Regions from separate parts of the Homo sapiens genome. Here all the other regions are linked to region 1. The links are contacts of gene promoters, found by promoter capture Hi-C in blood cells and fetal thymus (Javierre and others, 2016). All regions are on one chromosome and are shown on one strand. The core of a region is centred on a gene start or on the middle of the fragment in contact, and the rest is flanking DNA. Distances in the headings are between cores, read along the strand shown.

Region 1 (3,853 bases), core at 356-2,855:
TTCCTCACCAGTTCGGGGGATGAGGCGGGGCCCCAGCTATGCCTCAGTTCCTGCTGCGGACCGGGGGGCTACCCCAGCCGGGGACAGAAGAATCGGCAAGGATGAGCGAGTCCGGCCGCTGGGGCCGCCCCCGCGAGCTCCCTCCCCCCGCGAGGCAGGTCCCCTCCACTCTCCCCGCACTGCCGGAGCCGGCAGGTTTCCATGGGAACCGCAGCGGGGTCCGCGCGCCCAGGAGCAGCCCCCCTCCTAGCTCAGTTTCCGATGACGGAAACCGGGAGGAACACGGGGTGGGGAACAGACCATCGCTTGGGGCCCCTAGCGCCCGCAGCCAGGTCGCCCCGGCGAGCCCAAGAGGGGCCACCCGGGGATCTGCACCGCCACCGCCCCTATTGCGCGGGCCACTGCGATTGGCCTGCCCTTTCCAGGCGTGGCAGCATCCCCTGGTGCGCGCACTCCCATTGGCTCGATCTCTAGGGCATCTTCCAGTAACTGGTTATCTCAAGGGCCGCCCCTGATTGGGCAAATTAGGCTCTCCTCGCTGGTGGCGCTCTCTGACAGTCTGGAGCCTAAAGGGCGTGCAGGAACGAGGATTGGGTGGGGACTGCCGCTCTCCAGTTAGGGGGTCTGGGCTACCTCGCCGGCAGCGCCCTCGACCGGACTGTCGGATTGCTGTCTGTGGTGCTGAAGCCTCACGCCCTGGCGACCCCGCCCCAGTGTGTGCTAGTTCCCGCGCCCCGACGTAAACATGCACCGGCGCCCGCGCACCAAAGGAGGCTGCGCCACCCCCAACGCCTTAGAGAGAGGCCAGGTTCCCCCTAGCAGAGAGCGAGCATGACTCCACAGTCAGGAGGACCAATCACGAGCCTAGAAAGCCAGGACATTTATGTGGCAGATCCACCCACCCCAGTTCTGTGGGGTCCAAGAAGGATCCGTGGTTTCCCAGAGCTGCATGGCTCCAGCGATGATTGTCCAGAACACTGAGCCCCAAACCTTTTCACCCCCTTCGGAGCAGTGCGGAGTTTCCTTGCACTGGGGAGTGCCAGTCCTTACCTTTTGAACCCTAGAAGGATCCAGCTCACTCAAAACCAACAGCGTCCCAGTCTCCTTCTGCAGAAGACTAGGGCCACAGTAGCCACCCTCCCCCGTGGTCTTGAGGTGGTCTACACTGGTGCCTCCAAATCTGGGGACCCAGGCCTCTGCCTACTAAAATATTGGTTCCTGATCCCCTGTCCAGTTCCCTCAGTGGACAACACCTCTGGAAGGTCGCATATTCAGGCCACTAATACCTCCTCGCTCTGTTGGCTCCTCCAGCTCTAGGAGCTGGACGGAGGAGGGGAGCCCGTCTCCTGGCCCGAAAGCCAGCCCAAGAAGGGGTGCCAGGGTAGGAAGCAAGGGCCTCGAGGGAAGGAGGGCCCAAATCTGGCAACCCGAGCACCTAGGATGCGCTTTTGGGGGATTCAGAGTCCCGACCAGTGCGCGCTCACTTCCACCTGCCGCGCCGTCGGGAGCCGCGAGGAGGCGGAGCTCGGTCGCCGCAGCCAATGAGCGACGCCGGCGCTGGCAGCTGCTGCTATAAAGGGCTGGGGGCGGCGGCGGCGCGGTCCAGAGCGCGGAGCGCGCAGCGCGGGCCGGAGGGAGGGAGGGAGGGTGGGCGAGGGGAGAGGACTTGAACACACGGGACCGGACAGGACCGACCGAGGGGCGGCGGCGAAAGGCAGAGCGCCGCGATCTCTGTCGGGAAGCGCAACCTCCCCGGGCCCCGCGGGGCCGCGCAGGGGGCGTCCTCAACCCCGCGCCCGCTCCCTCTTTCCATCCCCTGCCGCCCGCAGGCCACCCCGGGGCCCGGCCATCCGCGCGCGCATCCCCGGGTTCGGGCCCGTCCCTGGCCCTCGAGGGAGCCGCCGCCTTCATCGCCACATCTGCAGCGGCCGCACCAGAGGCCGCCCGGGCGGGACCCCAGCGTGAGCATCGGGCGCCCCCCTAGGAGTGCACCACCCCCGGAGCCCCCCTCAACACGGACCGCGCCCGCCGGGCACACAAGAATGGTCACTGTAGGTATTCCCCTGTCGCCGAAAGGGAATCGGGACGGGGAGGAGTTGGGCCCAGGCTCCGCGGAGATTGGGCGGGTGCGGCGGGGGGGGTAGGACCAGGCCTAGCTAGGCCCGGGTTGGGGGGGTAGGACCAAGCCTCGGGGCCTGAGAGTGGGCAGGGCCGCGCCCAGAGTGCTGAGGGCGCTTAGAGCTTGGTCTGAGAGGGCCTTAGGGAGACTGACTGCGATTCGGGAGGCGTCCGACGCCGCCCTGGAGGCGGGATTGCCCCCTCTCCAGCAGGCCTGATGGGGGAGGGGCCGCGGCGGCTAAGGATGCTTCCTCCATCCAGGCCCAGACCCCGCAGGCCGCCCAGGCAAACGCAGGGCCCGATCACTGGTGCTGGGCCAAGCCAAAGCGACAAAGCGTCCCCGAGAGCCCTGGGAAAGCGGGTGGCGTCGGATCGCGCGCCCCGGGCCTCGGCCGCACCCGGGAGGCGGGCGTCTCGTCCTCGAGCCCGTCGACCTTGCGGCAAGCGGGGAGGGGAGAGGAGGGGGCGCGCCCGGAGGCCCCGCGGGCCCGCCGCCGCTGCTGCCGCGTCCCTTTGTTTCTCGGCGCTTCTTCGCGGGCCGCAGCCTCGCGCGGGCGCCTCGGGCTGCGGGGAGGGGGAGGGGAGAGGAGGGCCCGCGGGTTGGGGGGGCACCTCTGGGCTCCCGGGTCTCCGCCCCCCGGGAGATGGGGTGGGAGGCCGAGACAGCCCCCTTAGGCCAGGTCCAGGCTCCCCACCTCGCCAAGGCTCTGGGCCGCGAGGTGACCTTGAGCGCGGCCCGCCCGCCTGCTCGCCCGCACCGCTAGCCCCGCGCTCGGTGCTTTCAGCAGCCACGGAGCTGGTCAGCTCCCGAGCGCGCAGCCCCTCCCGCCCTGCCACGCCCTGCCTGGCCACGCCCGGGCACGCCCATCTAGGCCCCGCCCCCAGGGCCCCGGGGGCCCGGCCTCGCCCGAGCCCTCGGATTCCCACTCGGCAGCCCGGGCGTATCCCGGGGGCGGGGCTGGCCAGTTATAGCCCCACCCCGGCTCCACCCCCGCCCCTGCCGCGCGACTCCGCTCCCCGCGCCGCCGCGCGTCCTTTGTCTGGTCCCGGCGCCTGGGCCTCCCTCTTCCACTCTTCCTATCTCTCCGTCTCTGCGTGTGTGTCTCTGTGCATTGTGTCTCTTTCCGGGCCCCTTTTTCGAGTCGTGGCTAGCACTGGGGGTGGGGGCATGATTGGCGCTCCCTCCATGCCTAAGCCTCTCCCCTCCTGGACCCTGGGACCCGCCCACCTGGCTCTGAGAAATGAGGTCCCGGAGGCCTGGCTCACCTGCTGTGTGACCTCAGGCCGTTCCTTTCCCTCTCTGGGCCTCGTGCTGTTCACCCAGGTCTGGGAACTGGAGTGTGGCCTCCTGAGGACCTCAGAACTCCCGCAACAGTCCAGCATCTCCTAAGCGTCCTCTGATCGGTTCTCTCATTTGAAAAAGGAAACTAATGCACAAAGGGAAAGAGGGTGTGGTCAGAGGTCACACAAGGGCCTTGAGGACCTAGGTTCTCCAGTGAGCGAGCCCTGGGGCAGAGATGTATCATGGGGACAGGCTGGGAGGAAGAGAGGTGACAAATTAAGACCAGGAGGACCCTGCATTGAAGAAGGGCCCAGAAGTAGGAGGCTCAGTCAGCACCACGTGGTAGCCCAGCCTCACCATGCATAGCCACTCAATGCCCTATTGTCGCCGGTATCCAGGCATCTGTCACTGTGACTGGGGCCAGGGGCCGCAGCTGGGGGCCGTGGGGGTCAG
Region 2 (3,853 bases), core at 1,117-3,616, 440 kb after region 1:
GCACTGCTTGGCAGCCATTACTGTGGATCAGCTTCTGACCCTCACAGAACTGGAGGCACACAGTAGGCCCTCTTTTTTTTTTTAGACGGAGTCCCGCTCTGTCGCCCAGGCTGGAGTGCCGTGGCGCGGTCTCGGCTCACTGCAAGCTCCGCCTCCTGGGTTCATGCCATTCTCCCGCCTCAGCCTCCCGAGTAGCTGGGACTACAGGCGCCCACCACCACACCCGGCTAATTTTTTGTATTTTTAGTAGAGACGGTGTTTCACCATGTTAGCCAGGATGGTCTCAATCTCCTGACCTCGTGATCCGCCCGCCTCGGCCTCCCAAAGTGCTGGGATTACAGGCGTGAGCCACCGTGCCCGGCCAGTATGCCCTTTTTAGTGTCTGGCTTCTTTCACTCAACAAAATGTAAGCTTCTTCCAGGTAGCAGTACTATGTCTGTTTTCACAGCTGTTTGGGGCCCTGTACGATTAGGCCTCCACTGATCCATGCCCCTGTAGATGGACACTGGGCTGATTCTTGTTTTGGGAGATTATGACCAAAGTGGCTATGGACACGTCTGTCGGTGTGGACAGATGCACTCAGCTCTCCTGGGTAGAACGAGGGCTGCAGGCTGCTGGGTCAGAGGGTATGTACAGGCTGAGCCTCAGAAAATATTATCTTCTGCAGTTCGATGGTTAAAAACAAACAAAGCAAAACAGAAGAGATTGCCAAAGAGCTGCATACTCCTACACGCAGGGTGTGAGGCCAGACTGCTTCAGACTTGCCAGCACTGATGGGCATTCGGCCGTTCTGGGGCGGGTGCTGGTGCAAGTCACTCTGGTTTTAACGAGCATTTTCTTGAAGTTGTGATGCTAATGCAATGACGTGAGCACCTTTCCCCACATTGATTAGTCCTGGGATGTCCTGTGTAAGGAGGCGTCTGTTCCCGGCTCTTGTCCAGCTTTAAATTGTGTTGTCTTTTCCTCATCTATGAGGAGTTTTCACTGTCTCCATCAGCGTGTCCATTAATAAACAGATGTTATTAATTTCAGTGAGGTCTAATTTCTCAATTGTTTGTGATTAGTGGCTTTTGGCTCCCGTGGAAGAAATCGATGCCTACTCATGAAGATTTTCTCCCGTGCTTTCTTCTAGAATTTTGTTTTACCTTTCACGTTCTTACATCCACAGTCCATGTCACGTGGATCCAAGTGCATGGTGTGTGCGTGTGTGGGGGTGGTCGAGGCTCATCCTCTCTACGTGGATACCCAGGAGACCAGTGTGATGGAGACACCCGTGCTTTCCCCACTGCGCTTCAAGGGTCTTCTTTAGGTTGGTAATGTTAAGTTTCCCTCACAAGATTATCATTAGAAATAAAACATGGGGAGGGTCTGTCATTGTCATTAGATTTCTGCGAATTCCCTTTTTTTGTTTTTGTTTTTTGTTTTTCAGGTATTGTCTCACTCTGTCACCCAGGCTGGAGTGCAGTGGTGCAATCTTGGCTCACTGCACCCTCTGCCTTCTGGGTTCAAGCGATTCTCGTGCCCAGCCTCCCGAGCTGGGAGCTCAAGCACGCATCACCATGCCAGTTTAATTTCTATTTTTGTATTTTTTGTAGAGATGGGGTTTTGCCATGTTGGCCAGACTGGTCTCAAACTCCTAACTTCAAGTGATCCGCCCACCTCAGCCTCCCAAAGTGCTGGGATTACACGAGCCACTATACCTGGCCCATGTTTTAAATAAGTATTCTGTATTTATTTCATTTTTTTAAGATACAGGGTCTCATTCCATCACCCAGGATGGAGTGCAGCTGTGTGATCATGGCTCACTGTAGCCTGGACCTGCTGTGCTCAAGTGATCCTCCCACCTCAGCCTCCCAAGTAGTGGGGACCCCAGGCATGTGCTACTGCCCGCAGCTGTATCCCGCACTTTAAGTAACTTAAGTCCTCCACTTGCTTTCCTCTTTGAGGACTTAGCCTTGGAGTTAGGTTTGTGAATTAGAGTCTATATATTTTTTTCTCAATACTGACAACACATGACATTTTCAGATCTGGCATTGAACTTGAATATGTCTCCTTTCCTTCATCATCTGTTTCTCTTCCAATAATAAAAGAACCTTTCTTTTTTTCTCTTTTTGAGACGGAGTCTCACTCTGTCCCCCAGGCTGGAGTGCACTGATGTGATCTTGGGTCACTGCAACCTCCGCCTCCCAGCTTCAAGATTCTCCTACCTCAGCCTCCCGAGTAGCTGGGATTACAGGCATGCACCACTACGCTCGGCGAATTTTTGTAGTTTTAGTAGAGAGGGGGTTTCGCCATATTGGCCATGCTGGTTTCAAACTCCTGACCTCAAGTGATCCGCCCGCCTTGGCCTCCTAAAGTGCTGGGATTACAGGCATGAGCCACCGCATCTGGCTAAAAGAACCTTTTTAAGCAGTATTTTGTTTTTGGAGTGGGCGTCTTGCTCTGTCACCCAAGGCTGGAGTGCAGTGGTGCAATCTTGGTCCACAGCAACCTCCACTTCCTGGGTTCAAGTGATTCTCCTGTCTCAGCCTCCCAAAAAGCGTGCCACCACGCCCAGGTAATTGTTTTCCTATTTTCAGTAAAGATGGGTTTTCACCATGTTGTCCATGCTGGTCTCAAACTCCTGACCTCAAGTGATCCTCCCACCTCAGCCTCTCAAAGTGCTGGGCTGACAGGTGTGGACCACCACAGCTGGCCTTGCGCGGTAATTTTGACTCATTAATTTAGGCACTCCAATTGTTACCATCCTCTAAAACTTCACACTTGGTAAGATTCTCTCCAAACCATGCATGTGGGCTCCCTTCACTTTCCCCTCCAACAGATACAATTCCCCCACGCTCTGCTTCATGACTAACAGCAAACTGTTATTTAAAATCAAACAGTACAACCCTCCCATTACGGGGACAGCCGTACTGGCCAGTGTGTACCAGGAAGTGAAATAAGACCTTGGAGAGTGGAAGACTGGGTGAGTCCTGGGCCAGGCATGGGCCTTACACCTTTGCTGGCTCCTGCCCAGCTCTGTGACCTGCCCTGGGCTGGCAGAAGGTGCACATGCCTCCCTGGGGAGTTGCTGAGAACATTCCTTTCTTCTTATTTAAATGGTACCCATATAGAGTCGCTCACGGAAAAGGATATTAGTAAATGAAAAACATATAAATGGCACTCATGATCCACCAACACGTTATGATCCGCCGCTGGGCCGTGGCCACAGCTGGAACCGCATGCTGCCTCGTATATAGGACATGTCTGTGAGGACAGCGATCTCCAGGCTTGGAGCAGGGCCTGGCAGAGAGCAGGAGTGTGGCCACCATCTCACCAACACAGAGATGGCACAGGTAGCCTGGGAGGGTGCAAGGACAGGAGAGGGCTGCCACTTTCTCTGCTCCAGACATGCCAGCCTCTTGTCCCCAACCTCCTGGCCACACGGGCAGCACCCATTACTGCCATATAACCCCTCATCCCACCTCATCCCTTGAGGCCACCAGGCCACAACTTTGGCAGAGCCTCTCCGCCTGCTGTGGCCTCTGCTGGTGCACTCTCCCCAACCTCCCCTCTCTCAAGGCTCTGCTGCAATGTCCCCTTCTCCGAGACCCGCACCCCTGCCTCTCCTCTCGACCACATGTGACATTCCCTCTCATCACCGCAGATACATGTGTGCTTCCCTGTTCCAGAAAGCATGTTCCTCAGGGCCAGGCTCAAAGACACAGAGATTCAGTCAGTGTTTGTGGATGAGTGAAAGAGTGAGCGGCCCAAGCCTGAGTGTGCAGAGTCAGAGTGCAGATGCCAGGCCTGCTCCCACGGGGACCCCTACAGCCCCCGCCCTCCCCGCCTCCTCGCTTACCTGTCCTTGTAC
Region 3 (3,853 bases), core at 536-3,035, 300 kb after region 1:
TCTGGCATGGTTTTTATGTTTTCTGTGGTATGAGCTGGCCACACCCTGGTCTGGGGATGCTGTTGGCCATGCCGATGACCGAGTGTCTCATGCAGCCGGCCCTGTCTATGTTACTCTTTGCCTATGTCCAGCATTTGGTCACCGTTCTGTACTAAAGTTGAATATTGCCTGTGGGCCTCAGGAAGTCACTGTATATGGCAAAAAAAAAAAATTTAAGGCTGGGCATAGTGGCTCATGCCTATAATCCCAGCTATGCGAGAGGCTGAGGTGGGAGGATCCCTTGCGCTCTGGAGTTCTAGAGCAGCCTGGACAATATAACAAGACCCTGTCACAAAGAAAAAAACCCCAACAACCTTTTTAGCCATTAAAGGGAATTCAAATTAATTGGTCTTCAGAGTTGGCGCCCCGGGGGACAGGAAGGGGAACCCCCGAGGAAATGCTGACACAGAAACCATGCATGGGCTGGGCGGTGCTGCTCCGGAGGTAATCCCAGCACTTTGGAAGGCGGATCACTTGAGCTCAGGAGTTCAAGACCAGCCTGGGCAATATAGTGAAACCCCATCTCTACAAACATTACAGAAAATTAGCTGGGCACAGTGGCATGCGCCTTTACTGCCTGCCGCTCAGGGGGCTGAGGCAGGAGAATCACTTGAATCCGGGAGGCACAGGTTACAGTGAGCCAAGATCGCATCTCTGCACTCAAGCTTCAGTGAAGGGAGTGAAACCCTGTCTTACAAAGCAGCCATATGTGGCCCAGGGGGACCTGAGTGGATTCCAAGACATTGGTGGCTACACAAAAAGGAAACTGGACTTTTATTCCACGCTGTTGGCTGGCAGTCCAGGACCTCAGCATCCAGGAAGTCACCTTTGTCCTCAGACCAACCTGGGTGGGTGTTTTTTGTTGTCTTTTGTTTTCTTTTGTTTCGTTTCGTTTTTTTAGTCAGGATGTGTTTTTTTTTTTTATTTTTTATTTTCAGGACAGTCTCTCTCTGTTACCCAGGCTGGAGTGCAGTGGTGTGATCTCTGCTCACTGCAACCTCTGCCTCCCGGGTTCAAGCAATTCTCCTGCCTCAGCCTCCTGAGTAGCTGGGATTACAGGCATCCCCCCACCACGCCCAGCTAATTTTTGTATATTTAGTAGAGATGGGGTTTCACCATGTTGGCCAGGCTGGTCTTGAACTCCTGACCTCGTGATCTGCCCGCCTCAGCCTCCTAAAGTACTGGGATTACAGGCATGAGCCACTGTGCCTGGCCACCAAGACGTGTTTTTATCTCTGATTTTTTTTTTTTTTTGAGAGGCAGGGTCTTGCTCTGTTGCCCAGGCTGGAGTGCATTGGCGTGATCTCTGCTCACTGCAACCTCCGCCTCCCGGGTTCAAGCAATTCTCCTGCCTCAGCATCCTGAGTGGCTGGAACGACAGGTGTGCACCACCACGCCCGGCTAATTTTTCTATTTTTAGTGGAGACGGGATTTCACCATGTTAGCCAGGCTGGTCTCGAACTTCTGATCTCAGGGGATTCGCCCGCCTCAGCCTCCCAAAGTGCTGGGATTACAGGCATGAGTCACCGTGCCCGGCCAAACCTTATTTTTAGCGATCACTCAGGCTCGAGCCAGGAATATGGGGCCACAGGGTTGTCCCTGTCCCTGACTAGCTGCTGGGCAGGCACCAAACTGGATTCTGCCACCTGCTCAAGGGGTTACCTTGGCAGCTCTGTGCCTCAGTTTCCTCATCTGTAATAATCCGATTTCCCTCCAAGGGGCAGGAAGACTGGATGTGGTAACACAAAAATCAGCCCTGTTACAGCTCCTGGCCCAGGGTGTATGACCCGCAGGGCTGTGGTGGTTTGGCTTTTATGACCAAGAGCAGACACTCATTTCCTGTCCCTCCAGGCCTCCCAGAAGTTCCTGCCGAATCGTCTTCGTCACCCCCGGGGTCCGAGGTAGCCTCCCTTACACAGCCTGAGAAGAGCACAGGCCGAGTGCCCACCCAGGAGCCCACCCACAGGGAGCCCACCAGGCAAGCAGCCTCCCAAGAGTCCGAGGAGGCCGGGGGCACCGGTAAGTGGTGGGTGGCCGCCAAGAGGGACGGGGCACCGGGATGGCGCCAGTTCGGAGTCTGGCCCTGAAGGACTCTCACAGCACCTCCGCTGTCCTCCCCTCCAGGCGGGCCCCCGGCAGGCGTGCGATCTATCATGAAACGGAAAGAGGAGGTTGCAGACCCCACGGCCCACCGGAGGAGCCTCCAGTTCGTGGGGGTCAACGGCGGGTGAGAGGAGAAGACCCCACCCCCCACCCCATACTTCCCGCCCCTCCTCCATTCATCCACGCACGAGAGCCTCCTAATTACCTCATTCTGAGCTCCTTGCTTTGGTTAATTCGTTTAATCAAACCACAACACAGAGATGAGGAAACTGAGGCATAGGAAGGCTAAGCGCATTTCTGGAGCTCACTCAGTGACCCAGGAGTCAGCCCTGCGTGCCCTGGCTCAAGAGCTCAAGGTGTAACCACTGCACAGCTCTACCCCACAGAAGGTGCCGGACGCCGCTTCCTGCCCTGATAGAGCTCCTGGTCCAGTGGGGAGCTGGGTGCTGATGGGTGGTTGGAGCCGTGATGGGGAACACTCAGGTGGTGCAGGTCCTCAAGAAAGACACAGGTGGCCCTAGGGGAGTCCCAGAAGGAGGAGACACAGGTGGTACGGGAGAAGTAGGAGCTAGCAAGGTGAAGAGAGGGTGTGGGGAGGGCTCTTCTGGCAGGGGCACAGCGTGGGTAAAGGCTCAGAGGTGGGAAAGCAGAGTGACACGAGAAGTGGGAGGTGCAGGGAGTGATGGTTGGTTTGGGGCCTTGAATGCCGAGCCTAGAAGCTTGATTAGGTTTTGTCCAGAGCCAGCAAGAAACACGAGAGAGCCCTATTTGCAGTGGAACAGGAGTCTGAATCACCTGTGTTAAAAGGGCTAGAAGTGGCCGGGCGCGGTGGCTCACATCTGTAATCCCAGCACTTTGGGAGGCTGAGGCGGGTGGATCACTTGAGTTCAGGAGTTCGAGACAAGCCTGGCCAACATGGTGAAACTCCATCTCTACTAAAAATACAAAAAATAGCTGGGTGTGGTGGGTGCCTGCAGTCCCAGCTACTTGGGAGGCTGAGGCAGGAGAATCGCTTGAACCCAGGAGACAGAGGTTGCAGTGAACTGAGATTACACCATTGCACTCTAGCCTGGGCGACAGAGCGAGACTCCGTCTCAAAAAAAAATGGCTAGAGGTGGCTGTGCGCAATGGCTCACACCTGTAAACCCAGTTCGAGATCAGCCTGGCCAACATGGCAACATGGCGAAACCCCGACTCTACTAAAAAATACAAAAATTAGCCGAGCACAGTGGTGCAAACCTGTAGTCCCAGGTATTTGGAAGGCTCAGGCAGAAGAATTGCTTGAACCCAGGAGGCAGAGTTTGCAGTGAGTGCCACTGTACTCCAGCCTGGGCAACAGAGCAAGACTCCATCTCAAAAAAAAAAAAAAAAAAAAGGAGGGTGAGTATGCTAGAAGTGTCAAAAGGCAGGAGGTGAAAAGCAGTGCCCCTCCCCCCGAGCATGATCATAATCACTGCTAATGTTTATTGAGCGCTTACTGTGTGCCAGTTGCTGTAAACCACATCCCACAACCCTGGAATGTCAATACTGCCATTGAACAGATGGGGAAGCTGAGGCCCACAGAGGTCAGATCACCAGATCCCTGCCTTCCTTTCCCACCATTTCTCATCCCACCTGCAGCATCTCCCCCTCCCCGCTCGTTCCTCCCCAGGTATGAGTCGTCATCCGAGGACTCCAGCACAGCAGAGAACATCTCAGACAACGACAGCAC

What was found. The method cuts DNA at HindIII sites, captures the fragments that hold promoters and counts their contacts. A CHiCAGO score of 5 or more calls a contact.
Region 2: a contact is called between a fragment that was not itself captured here and the fragment with the promoter of ELAVL3 in region 1, in 1 of 17 cell types (neutrophils). The highest score is 5.3, in neutrophils.
Region 3: a fragment that was not itself captured here is called in contact with the fragment with the promoter of ELAVL3 in region 1 in 1 of 17 cell types (M0 macrophages); the score reaches 5.0 in M0 macrophages.

The regions. Positions count from the first base shown.
Region 1 is chr19:11,478,798-11,482,650 of GRCh38, reverse strand. It overlaps ELAVL3 (ELAV like RNA binding protein 3), which reads left to right and starts at 1,605. Exons shown (of 7, transcript NM_001420.4): 1 at 1,605-2,051. The coding sequence starts at 2,043. RefSeq lists silencers at 1-238, 269-518, 2,893-3,087. The HindIII fragment of the contact is 20,383 bases long and covers 1-3,853 here.
Region 2 is chr19:11,041,549-11,045,401 of GRCh38, reverse strand. SMARCA4 (SWI/SNF related BAF chromatin remodeling complex subunit ATPase 4) reads right to left here. Exons shown (of 35, transcript NM_003072.5): 30 at 3,842-3,853. Among named protein-coding and RNA genes, the nearest start is that of LDLR, 46 kb to the left of the region's middle. The HindIII fragment of the contact is 3,906 bases long and covers 414-3,853 here.
Region 3 is chr19:11,176,758-11,180,610 of GRCh38, reverse strand. It overlaps KANK2 (KN motif and ankyrin repeat domains 2), which reads left to right. Exons shown (of 13, transcript NM_001136191.3): 5 at 1,891-2,058; 6 at 2,164-2,266; 7 at 3,794-3,853. Among named protein-coding and RNA genes, the nearest start is that of KANK2, 19 kb to the left of the region's middle. The HindIII fragment of the contact is 2,157 bases long and covers 707-2,863 here.